Linked DNA regions of Homo sapiens: region 1 is linked to region 2. Evidence: promoter capture Hi-C in human tissues and cell types (Jung and others, 2019). All regions are on one chromosome and are shown on one strand. The core of a region is centred on a gene start or on the middle of the fragment in contact, and the rest is flanking DNA. Distances in the headings are between cores, read along the strand shown.

Region 1 (6,321 bases), core at 751-3,250, 940 kb after region 2:
AGCAGGGTTCTTGCCGCGTACTCCCCACCCCCACCCCCACGCCTTCTTATTAGTCACCCCCCAACCCCTCCTCCCAGCATAGTCTTATTTCGAGGCTTCGGAATTACTGGAGAGGACTTGTGTCCGCGATCCGCCCTGCGGCGAAAATGGAGACACAAGCCCTCCTGCTCTGCCCACTGCGTTTTGGAGACGTAGTTTGACTTTGCGGCTTGCAGTCGTAGACTTTGCGGAGAGAGCCTTGGAGCAATTAGGACGCATTCACTTGGGTGAACTTTGTTTCCTCGGTGTCCCTCCCTTTCCTCCCCAGCTGCTCCCTGCGTCTTCCTCAGCTGTTCTACACCCCCCCGCCCCCCACCCTCAGGGCGAAGGCTGCAACAGGCTGCCGTCGCCTCTAGGTCGCGTCTGTTGCGCTAGGGCACGAGCACAGGAGGCGGAGCGCGTCTCCTGCTTCTCCCTGCACCCAACGATTTCCGGTCAGTCTCTGGTCTCTTGGAACGCTGAGCTGGACTGGGGCGACCTCCCACGCGACACTGGGGAAAACTCTTTTTCTAGTGGTGAGGGCGCACAAAAGGGCGGGGCAGAGGCGCGTCCGCACCTCGTGGAGGTCTAGGAGAGGGGCCCAGACGCCCATGCCACAACCATGCTCCACACGTGTGCTCACGACCCAAAGCTCTGAAGATAGATTGTGCGTTCCCGCCCTGCTTTCAGGTCTCCTCGCAACGCATGTAATGAGCCCTAGGCCTGCGAGCGCTGGAGCGAGCGTCTAGTCAAGTGGCCAGATCAGGGCTGCGCCTGTAGGGGCCTTGGGGCCGCCTGTACGCTTATCTTCCCGCGGCTGGGAGCGCTCCTTCTTCTCTACAAGATGCTGACTGCGGGCCGCTCGCTGCCCTCTTCTCGGCTTAGCTGAACCCTGTCGCGCCGAGTTTAACTAGACACAGCGCCGAGCCGGCACCTGGATCCTAGCAGAGCTCAACTTCAACGCTTTTCTCCTCATTTCTTCTTCCCACACTTAATCTTTCTCACTCCCATTTTTTCTTATTTCTATCTCAACCTGTGTTTAGATAAACTAGGATTTCCAGGACATGTGTCACCCGTTCTAGCAGATACAATGCCCAAGTTTCTGCTAGAGACGTCCCTGGTACAGTAGAGGGCGGCTGCTGCGAGTGTGAGAAGTCTTTCATCGGGTACTAGAGGGACTTCCAGAGGGATTGAGTCTACCACAATTTCTTGGCTCTGGAAGCTTGGACAAGAGGATTGTTTTGACAGACTCAAATTAAATTGGGATTTCGAGAAGGGTAAGGACAGAGAGAGGACTCCTCATCAATAAGCTGCAAATAGGCCAGTGTTTTTCAAACTGAGGGTCCTGACCCATTAGTGGTTTTCAAAGATATTATATTGGGTTGCCATCAGAATTTTCTTCTAAAGAAATGAAAGAATAATAGAATAGAAATTATGAGGGCTTTGCAGGATAGCAAAAATATAAGACGTCTAAGCATTGTTTGCTGCAATTTTTCTTGGGTGACACTATGAAATATATTTATGGGGGGGTCTCAGTTAAAAAGGTTGATAGTGTCACTACTGAGGACCAATTGTACATGAAGTGAGAGAAAGGGCTGCCTTTATTGAGAGATACTGATAAGGGAATCTCAGCACTGTGGTTTTCTTTTCTTTTCTTTTTCTTTCTTTCTTTTCTTTTCTTTTCTTTTTTTTTTTTTTTTGAGATTGAGATGGAGTCCTCGCTCTGTCGCCCAGGCTGGAGTGCAGTGGTGTGTTCTCAGCTCACTGCAGCCTCTGTCTCCCTGACAGGTGCGGGCACCCCACCCAGCTTTTTTTTTTTTCTTTTTTGTGTGTTTCTAGTAGAGATGGGGTTTCACAGTGTTGGCCAGGCTGGTCTCAAACCCCTGACCTCAGGTGATCCACCTGCCTTGGCCTCCCAAAGTGCTGGGATTACAGGTGTGAGCCACCATGCCTGGCCTACTACTGTGGTTTTCTGGCCAGTCCTCTTTCTTCACTCTGGTTTGTTCGTTTTTGGTCACCACTCCAATGGACTTCTGTATCTCTTTATCCTCTGGCCTGTTATCTGCTTGAAGCCAGGTGGGTGTCATAAGGAAGGGCCAGGGGGACAAGCACATAAGCACATGTAGCCACCCCCTTTTCATCTTCCTCAGCAACCTGGTACCTGGGAAGAGAGTGAACAGCAAAAAAGGCATAGAGGAAAGCTAGAGAAAAGGGATGGTAGTGAATGTCCCATTGTCCATGTCACAGGCCTTCTCATTTATATGCTATTGCCAAACAAGAAGGAGGAAGCAAAAGCTTTTGGGGGAAATGGGTAGAGATAGGGATGGATAAAGATAATGAACCATACTGTGAATGATCAGGTGAGCAGGGACTGATAAGTTGGAAGAGGAGGAGGCAATTTAGAGGATTTATTTAATCAGAGTCCTAGAGTTGAAGGCAGAGATGAGAAGGAGAGGACTAAAATGGCCAGGGTGCCAACAATAATGTGAATGAGTTTAAAGTAAGAAGAGATCTATGGAAGTGAATAAAAAGGGCACATGGAGGATGCTGGGTGCTGGGCAGGCAGGTAGGTATAAGGTGAAAGTTGGATATAGAGGCCATAGCAAGACTATGTTAGGAGAGTGTGGCTCTAAGTATGGGAAGCTCTGGGCTAATGAGGACCACACAGATGTTTCAAGGTGTCATAAAGGAGTCAAAAGGAACAAAATCATTGGCATGGAAACTTGCATTTCCTATAATTCCATTCTAGTCAGAGAGCTTGTTTCCTAAGAGGTGCTGCAATCTTTAGGCAGGGGTGATGTGGACTCCTTCAAAGATTTGGGTCATTGTGAAGGGCAGAAGCAGGTGGCAGACGGAGGACACATTCCATGGTTTCTGACATTCCTCCATTACAATAACTCTGTCTACTACATGTTGCAATTCCAGATATCATATCATATAATCATCTCAACTCCAAATATGACGTTGGCACTGTTATTTCCATTTTACAAATGAAGAGATGAGGTTGAGAGGTATCGTTTATTATCTTGGCCTATAAGTACATGGAAGAGTTGGAATTCGAACTGAGAGCCAGGATATGAACTTACAAGTGCCTTGCTTTAGCACTGCCTGTCCCAGAAGGATTGTACCTTTCTGCTTCTCCAGAAACTAACTAAAGATTTTCTCACCTGCTGAGAGTTGAGGATGTTGCTTCAGGCATGTTCAGACTTCTGGAGGGGAGCATTGACCTGAAACCACAGTGGGGTAAGTGATAATAGCATAATCTTCTTCTCGCTGAAATTTTAAAGAAGGGATTATTTTCATTGCTTTTCGTAGTTTATGGGTGAAGGAGTTCTGAGTTGCTTGCTTTGCTGCCCAAGAAAAGAGTGGGAATGATTGCTGCGTGTGTTTATGCCATTGAGAAAGTCATATTAAAAGTAGTAAAAAAGAAAACTGTTTTTCATCCTCAAGCTGTTTGAATTCCCTTATATTAATCATGTGAGTTTTCAGCAAGCTTCTAGGTTTCCTATCAGGAAAACCAAATTGCATATTAGTTAGTTCACAGTCCTGAGCAGGCCACTTTGTAAAAATGAAAAGCTGGCTATGCATGAACCTTTTATTCTTTCTTCTACTTCTTCTATATTTGTGGTAGACAGTGTTTAGCTGTTATTAACATTTTCTTAAGAGCTACTCTCACAGTCTAACAAATGGTATAAATAGATTTTGCTTAGACAGTCAAGCAGAGAGTAATATTTATTCAGAAGACTGTCTGCATCTAACTTGGTGTGGTCAAAGGGTGGCAAAAATAGTCTTATTATATTATAAAATTTATTAGAATATACATACTTGACAGACAAAACATAGTGGATTTAGATCAGCTGTTTGCTTATACAATAGATTTTGTTCGTCTTTTGACATTTAATTTAAGCTTCACTTATCTGAGGGCTGGAAGTAGGATAAGTATGTTCTGCATGTGTTATGCTTCTTGTTTTATAAGACTTACTTGTCTGCAGTTATCCGGAAATAATTCATAATCAGTGATTTAGGGACAAGGAAGCCTTGTGACATGTTCTCAAAGTGTCTTTCTGAAATGAAGTTCTGAAAAGTTGAATTATGGAGACCCTAACAGGGGTTTCTATTTTTGAGGAATGAAGATAGCTACATTTGCTTTCTTGGTCTTTTGACTAATTATCCTCCCTGCATACTGAATTGATACAGTTAAAAACAAGCTTCTAACAAATCCATAATGAATCTATTCGGTGCCAGGAGTCTGTGTTCTGTGTAATTGTCCTGCTCTCAGAAATGCTGGGCAGAATTCTCTACATGGGCCACATGTGTGGAAATGACATAGAAAACATTTGACACATCAGTGACTTATTTTTAATATATCTGAGAAAAATAAAGTCCGCTGCTGTAAAATCTGCACTTGTAGATGTGTGAGCCCTAAATAACCTTTAAAATTGGTCGTGGTGTGGTGGGAGATGTTGGTATTCATGAGTGTTTTGACATGTTTGACATTTTATGTATGGTGCACTGCTCTGTCTGTCTTGCATTTTTTCCCCAATAGTGCATATTTTCTTACTAAAATTCAGCTTTTGGTGTTTATATTTGGGGTTTCCAAGTCTGCTTATTGGATGAATGATTTGCTTGTTACTTATGCGAATAATGTTTTAATGAATTAGGTTACTATTGATTTTTACACTATAAGCATAAAAGAGGAATTCATAAAAAAGATAATTTTGATTTTAAAAGAAGCAATATATGATAAAATATATTCGATAAGTGCCACATATCTCCAACTTGCAGTGGTCCTCAGTTAGTAAATAAGGAAAAGCAATTCTATGGAATGATTATGCTCTCTGGAGCCAAGGAATTTGTGCACCTGAATCTTGGGTAGTGAATATAGATTTTAAAAATCTGTCTGAGCAGCATTTAAATTTGTCCTCCATTTATATTTGGAAGGGACAAAAGGGTCCCTAGTAAAGAATTGTCAATTGAACTGAAAATCTGGGTGGACGGTAAATATAATGTAAAAAATACATACCTAAGTATATGTAGAATCAGATGTCAATAGTGTTCACTGAATAGGATATATGTTTGATACTGTGGTCATCTCCTTTCGTATCATCTTCTATATTAATTCTCTAGGTAGAATTCAATAAGTGAGTGTAAAACTAATCCTTGGTGAAGCATTTTTCAAATTTATGACTACGATACTACTTTTTTTGAGTATTAGAAAAGGCAAAAATTTTGATTGAAAAGCTTTTACTATCACGTTTTTTCCTTTGTGATAAAACCGAATGCTATACAGTCTATTCTAATTTCTATCCTAACTTGACTAATGATAGATTTGGCTGAAAGTTTCATAATTCAGAATTAAGATGTTGCTAATTACCTTTTCCCTCTTTAAAGCCCATGTTACTAATAATGTGGCTTCCCTTTAAATGTTATTCTCTTTAAGACTGTAAGTGACTCTGAGGCTTTGACATTTTTTTGTCCCAGATATTTCTCCTGTTTTTAATCTCCACTTGTTGTCACATGCCAGGACAGCACTGTACCTTCAGGTGGGAGGACAGAGGGGCAACTTTCTTTGTCCAGGGTGTCAGGGCTCTTTTCCTCTGGAGCGGAAGTTTTATGTGCACTTTCCTTTGTACCCTTTCCCTGGAGACTAACACATCACCTCCATGACACATGTAGCAGTTGTGGCCTGGGGTTTGACCAGGATAGCATAAGTTTACTTTCAGTAAGCAGAAGTATTTAATTGCTTCTTACAATTCAAATGGTATCAAGAGACCAACTTGCATGCACTATCTAAGAGTACCTTCTCATGTTCTGTTCTTGACTAACAAAGCCTCAATGTCTCTCACATCCCTTTGAGGATCTTCTTGAGTAAAATTTCATTCATAAAACACAAAACAACATAAAACTTTAACATTGAAAGTGCAGTGCTGCTCTTTTAAAAATATTATTTTGATTTGTAGAGCAATGTGAATGATTATAGTCTGACACTAACAAGATTGTGAATCTCATTTTCAATGTTATGAGTTAGGAAAAATGCAAGGCTTTTCTTGAATGTGCAGTGTTTTGTATGCTCAACATTGCTTTCATCAAAATATGTACTGTTGATTCATTCATTACATTCCTTGTCTGTACTTAACTGAAAAGCAAGAAAAAGAAAATCAAGTGCTTGTCTTTCCTTGAGTTAATTTCCCTTAACATGTATTCAAAATAAGCATTCCAATGTAGCATCATGTAAAATAGTTATAGAATTTGATGATTATAGGAAAGTTTGGTGTGGGTGAGAAATGCATCATTCATTAGATT
Region 2 (6,022 bases), core at 572-3,071:
GGTGTCTTCAATGGCTCTATCCACTGGGATCAAATCGCTAAGGTAGACATTGAAGTTTCCTTCTTTCCATCTTCTTTCTGCCTCCTTCTCCTTTCCATGGGGGACAACTACAGGACGCCCAAACTGCCCTGGAGCTTTGGGGTCCCTTGGAGAAAGTGTCACATCAATTCTTAACACCTGGTGCGTTCCACTGTCTTCAGGTAAAAGGGCTTTTATATGACTCTGGTTGTATTCTGTAGAGGGGGCTTTGGCAGTTATGTTGATTTTTGCTGGCTCTAGCCCTCCAGTTAAAGCATGGTTAGTTTGGGACAGTGGCACTCTATGTGGAGCAAGTGAAGAGGAAGACATCTCACTTCTATTCCTGGAAATGTGTTTACTTTGGCTTTTACCCAATACTTTAGGAAATATTGTTTTGGTTTTAGAATTAGAGACCTCTTTGGGGTCTGCCTTTTGCTCTTCCTCTTTGGTTATAATCACAAGATGGCTTTCAGAGAAATTGAGTTTCTTCCCATGAGCCCCTCTAGCTCCATCATCCTTTGACAAACTTCCCAAAGGTGTCTCATTAATAGATTGCTTCCTTAAGCGATTTGAATTGACAGTGAACTTAGGAAAAGGAAGACTCGTATTGGCTTTGTGTTTATTTGCATTGACTTCTTTGCTCTGAGTCTTAGTTTTGTTTAAGGCCATGGCTTCCCCAGACTTCGGCACTGCTGTGCTGGCAGGGTGTGCCCTCTCGTTTGCTACTGCCTGTGATCGCTGCTTTGGTCTATCAGTACTAAGACTGATGGTCACATTCAAGTCCCTTTCAGCTGCTAGTTTTGATGTGTCACTGCTGGGACTATGACTCTTCCGGGGCTCCTGTTTTAAACTGACACGTCCCATGTGTACTGATATTTTGACTACCTGAGTTCCTTTTGCTGCTATGAATGAGGTCTTTGGAGCCCCCTGAGCTGTCGTTTGCTTTGGTGTCCCCTGGTGAGAGGAGGCTTCAGGTTTGGTGCCTCTCCCGTCTGTCTTCTGCTTGTTAGGAGTCACAGGGAGGGTCTGCAGATGTGCAGGATGCCACAACGGCACAACCTTGCCCCTTCCCAGGGCATTCTGCATTTTTCTTTCCCTCTGGGTTTGGTCCAAGTCCACCTCAACCTTGAGCACACTCTCCTCAGTTTTTCTAACATTCTCTTTGCCCCATGCCCCTTTCCCATGTCCCCTTAGGGGAGGTTTCATCTCTTTTATGCTGCTGTAAAAAATTTTTCCTTGGTCTGGCTGAACTCTGAATCCTATCCGCTCCCTCCTCACAATGTCTTCCTTGATGACCCGAGTGTTGATCTCACTGAATGAGAGGCGGAGAGCTGCCATGTCAAAGAGGAGCCAGATGACAGAAGCTACAAAGATAAATGCCAAGACTCGCCCACTTCCTCGGAAAAACTTTCGGATCCTGTTCATGGTACAAAGCTTTCCCTAGCAGCCTGCCCTCCCTTAGCCTGCTTACCTTGAGTGGAGAGGAAGCTGAAGTAGCAGCAGCAGCAGCAGCAGCAGCAGAGTTGCCAGAAAGTGACCCCCTCCCCTGAACACAGCAGGAAGCAGCAGTCCAAGGGGAAAGCTCAGTTCCTACCGCTTGTCAGTCTCTGCCTGCGTGGCATTTCATAGCAGAGCATCTGTGCCTGCTTGGCTGGCCCTGGCTAAGTTCTGATAAACACTGGCCTTAGGTCACTCCAGGAGCAGTTGATTCCAGCCACCGAACAGTTCAACATATCACTTGTCTTGTCTCCGGGAGCCCATGTCCACCTTCCTACAAGCCCAAGAAAAGGTGGGGGCCAGATTGAGACTGCCGTTTCTCTCCTCCCCGTTCTCCGTCTGCACGCTGTAACTCAACACCACTTCTCATAAGGAAAACATTTCATGCCATTACCCAGAAAACTTCATTCAGCTCTCACCTTCTGTGTTATGTGAGAGCATGTGTGTTTAAACGGCAATTAAAGAGGAAAAAAAGCTATCTAACTTGGAGGGCATGTGTTCCTGGTTTGTGACCCCACCTACCCTACTCCTGCTCATTAACCCTGTTGTAGCCAGGTGCCAATGCTCTGCCTGAGGAATTTATCACTGAAGTTAACATTTCAGCTTTAAGACATAACAGCTTAAAGAAGGGGCCTGGTATATCCTCACTTCCAGAGATGTATATGTTTAATTATTTAGATCATTCATTCAAGGGGTTTCAATGTATTTCTTTGTAAGCCAACTATTTTTTTTTCACTAATCCATCTGTTTTTATTATTACATTTGATTACAAATAAACTTAATTTGTCATACTGCTATAAAAGTTTCTAAACACTTTGTTATGGTCTGAATGTTTATGTCCACCCAAAATTCATATGTTGAAACCTAATCATAAATGTGATAGTATTAGGAGGTAGGGCTTTTGAAGGTGATTTCATTATAAGGATAGAGCCCTCATGAATGGGATCAGCACCCTTAAAAAAGAGGCCCTATTGCCTTGCCATTCCACAAAGTGAAGACATAATGAGAAGGTGCCATCTATGAACCAGGAAATGGGCCTTCACCAGTCAACGAATCTGCTGGTGCCTTGATTTCTGACTTCTCAGTCTCTAGAACTGTGAGAAATAAGTTTCTGTTGTTTATGAGTCACTTAGTCTATGTTATTCTTCTATAGTAGCCTGAACAGATTAAGATACACTTACTCTCAGTTTCAGTACTTATCTCGTCTTAAACCAGCAAGCAACAGTTTCAGGACCACACCAGGACTTGGACCAGATTTTGAGTGATGCTGGTTGACTGGTAGGGTAGCAGTTCCGCCACAGGCTTTTCATTAGAACCACTTGAAACAAGATCCCCAAAACTCTGGTCAATTGATGAGAGAGGAGGTGGAGATGACATTTGGGCTGATATTGTATTAAATATATATATATATATATATATATATATATATATATATATATATTTTTTTTTTTTTTTTTTTTTTTACAAAGCTTCCCAGGTCTTTCAAATGTGCAGCTAAAGTTGAGAAACACTGGTCTAGAAAAAAAGTCTCAATTTTTTGTTTGTTTGTTTTTGGTTTTTGAACATTGCCTATGAGACATTTAATTTTAGGTGTCTACTTGACTGGGCTAAGGAACACCCAGAGAACCAGTAAAGCATTATTTTTAGGTATATCTGTGAGGGTGTTTCCAGAAGAGATTGGCATTTGACTCAGTGCACTGAGTGGGGAGGAGATGCCCTCACCCAATGTGGGCAGGCACCACTAATTGGTTGAGGGCCCAGATAGAAAAAAAGGCAGAGGAAAGGTGGATTCTGTCTCTGTTAGTGAGCTGGGACATCTTTCTTCTTCTGCCTTTGGACTAGAACTTTAGATTCTCTGGCTTTGGCCTCTGGGGCTTGTACCAGTCTGCCCCCACAACCTCCACATCCCTCACTAGGTTCTCAGGCTTTTGACCTCAGACTGAGAGTGATGTTATTGGCTTCCCTGGTTCTCAGGCCTTTGGACTCAGAATGTGCCATGTTACTGGCTTTCCTGGTTCTCCAGCTTGCAGGTGGCCTGGACTGAGGTTTCTCAGTCTCCATAACCACATGAGCCAATTCCTGTAATAAACTGCAACTCACTTATCTACCTCTATGAATCCTATTGGTTCTGTTTCTCTGAAAAATCCTGGCCAATACAGTCTACAACTTGTGTGACATTCCTTCCCTGTCTAAAGTACAGTCTAATAAAATCTATGCATTCCCATAACAACTAAATCAGAATACACATTTTGACATTGCCAGTTGTAAAGATTGTCCATAGAGTTTGAGAAGCACTTCTCGGGACCACTGTCCTTCTCTCTGAGGAACTCTGAGTGATTTGTGGACAACACTGCTGTTCATTACTCTAGTGTGGGGAGGGTCTAGCTTCCATGCTTTGAGGTAAACTTATGTTCCCAATGACTTGGGAGGGGAAGGAGAGATTCCAAATTCATATATATATCTCAAGCACTTTGCTAAGTTCTTTCCATTGACTATCTCACTCAATCCTCACAAGAATCTAATGTGAAGGAGTAAATTACAATATGTATTTTGTAGTCAGCAAATGAAACCTTAGAGAGGTAAAGCAACTTCTGGTAGAGATTGGAGGGGTTGGGTCTTGAATACACGACTGTAGTCCGTGTGCTTCAATATCACACAATACTGCTCTCTAGCTGTATGATCTTGCAGGCTAGTTAATTTTATGTGGTTACTGAGCAATAAAAAAAAATTCTGCTTTGCAGATTAATGTGAGAATATTTAAAAATGGTTAAAGTTATTGTTATATTGAAGGTACTCTTTAAATGTTAGCCATTCATATTGTTGCTAATACTTTGCTGTAATAGGAGTGTCGGATGCATGTGGGAGGCAATGTACCAGCTCTTCCCAAAAAAACAAGTAGAAAACTAGTGACTAACATGATTCTGGCAATGGGGAAGAAACAAATCTGAGTATTTTATTTTATTCTTGCCATTCTTATTTCCTCTAATTATAGATTTAACAAGACCATTGTTCACTGAGAACTCCCTACATGCCCAAAACATGAAGTAGGTGACATTGTCTCTGCCCCTAACAACCTTAAAACTCCCCTCAGTAGAACGCCACCAGTATAATAATAATAATAATAAAAAAAGAACGCCACCAGCAAAAAACATAGCACACATCTTTAGCATCCACATTCGAAAATAAAGTGAGAATTTTTTTTAGCATCATGGATAAATGGTTTGCATTACAATATTGTTTTAAACATGAAAATAGAATACTTTAAAATTATTTTACTCTGCATGATTCAATCTTGTCCAGCCACCATCCCACCCCAAATGGCAGTTGGAATTACTCAAATGTCTTTTAGGAAAGTCAACACTTGTTATATTCTATGCTTGGCAGTTTAAAACACTGCTTGAAATATATTCTTGTTTCCATATAAATTTTATCAAAGAGTACTGATTTCTTTTTATCCCTCTCTGGTTTGTCCTTGCGAATCAAAACACAAATTACTTGCAACAGGAGAGCAACATGTTAAGAAAATTAAAAGGGAATCTTGGCTTATCTATCATGGGTAAAGCAACACATTAACTCTGGCTTAGTCTTCGGTCTATTTGACATACAATTCAGAATGAAATGTGAAGAGTGGGTAGGAGAGTAAGGAAACATTGATTAAATATCCTAGAAATGGAGGAGTAGATTTGTTGTCAGACCTGGTCTAAAGTACTGACTTGGCCACTAATAGCCATATGACTATGGATGTGTCACACATGGAAAAGCTTGTGTAAGGTTCTCTTCCCAGCCTCTTCTTGGTCTTTTCCCTTGTGAGTTTATGATAATCTGTGATGATGGTAGAAGTTGGTTATAAGCCATACCACTAATTCAACACTATGTGTCTTCAGGCACTCAGTAATAATTTCTGTGGCCCTCATAGCTGTACATCTTTCTCCTTTTTTTTCTCTTTTCCGACACACATGCTGTTTCACATCTCAGATCAATGAATTGCATAGGTAAAAGGAATAGAAAAAAAAGGATATTAGGAAATTCTACCTTTTCATCAACACACATATTGCCCAACACATGACATTTGTATATTGGTAAATGACGGTGCTTCTAAAATTTTAGTTGTATTAATTTCCATGTTACCAGCAGGAAACTAAATACGTAAGTGGGTTGGTTATTTGAGGTACCCCACAGTTAGGGAGCCTGGCTTGTCATCCCAAGTCGTAGAATGCAGGTACCTTTGGCTGGTCAAATTTCTCAAGAATCTGTACATACTTAGTTGGAGATGATATCCATCTGAAAATCTGGAGTTACGAATTATCCTTGGGAGACATTTGGAGGGGTTATTCCAATTATCAGTCTGACTCCAGCTTGTACTAAACATTTAAAAACAGATTTTAGTTTCTTCTTCTGTAAAACGAGCATAATAGTAGGAGGACTTGCCCTCTACTCTATTTGGTTGTTGTCAGGATAATCATATTAATAGCAACCTTTCATTGGGAATTTACTGAGGGCCTACCAC

What was found. The method cuts DNA at HindIII sites, captures the fragments that hold promoters and counts their contacts. A contact is called where the count stands out against the background at its distance.
Region 1: a fragment that was not itself captured here is called in contact with the fragment with the promoter of GALNT5 in region 2 in 1 of the 25 tissues and cell types used here (dorsolateral prefrontal cortex).

The regions. Positions count from the first base shown.
Region 1 is chr2:156,314,367-156,320,687 of GRCh38, reverse strand. No RefSeq gene overlaps it. Among named protein-coding and RNA genes, the nearest start is that of NR4A2, 15 kb to the left of the region's middle. The HindIII fragment of the contact is 3,436 bases long and covers 283-3,718 here.
Region 2 is chr2:157,253,504-157,259,525 of GRCh38, reverse strand. It overlaps GALNT5 (polypeptide N-acetylgalactosaminyltransferase 5), which reads right to left and starts at 1,821. Exons shown (of 10, transcript NM_014568.3): 1 at 1-1,821. The coding sequence starts at 1,443. The HindIII fragment of the contact is 4,009 bases long and covers 122-4,130 here.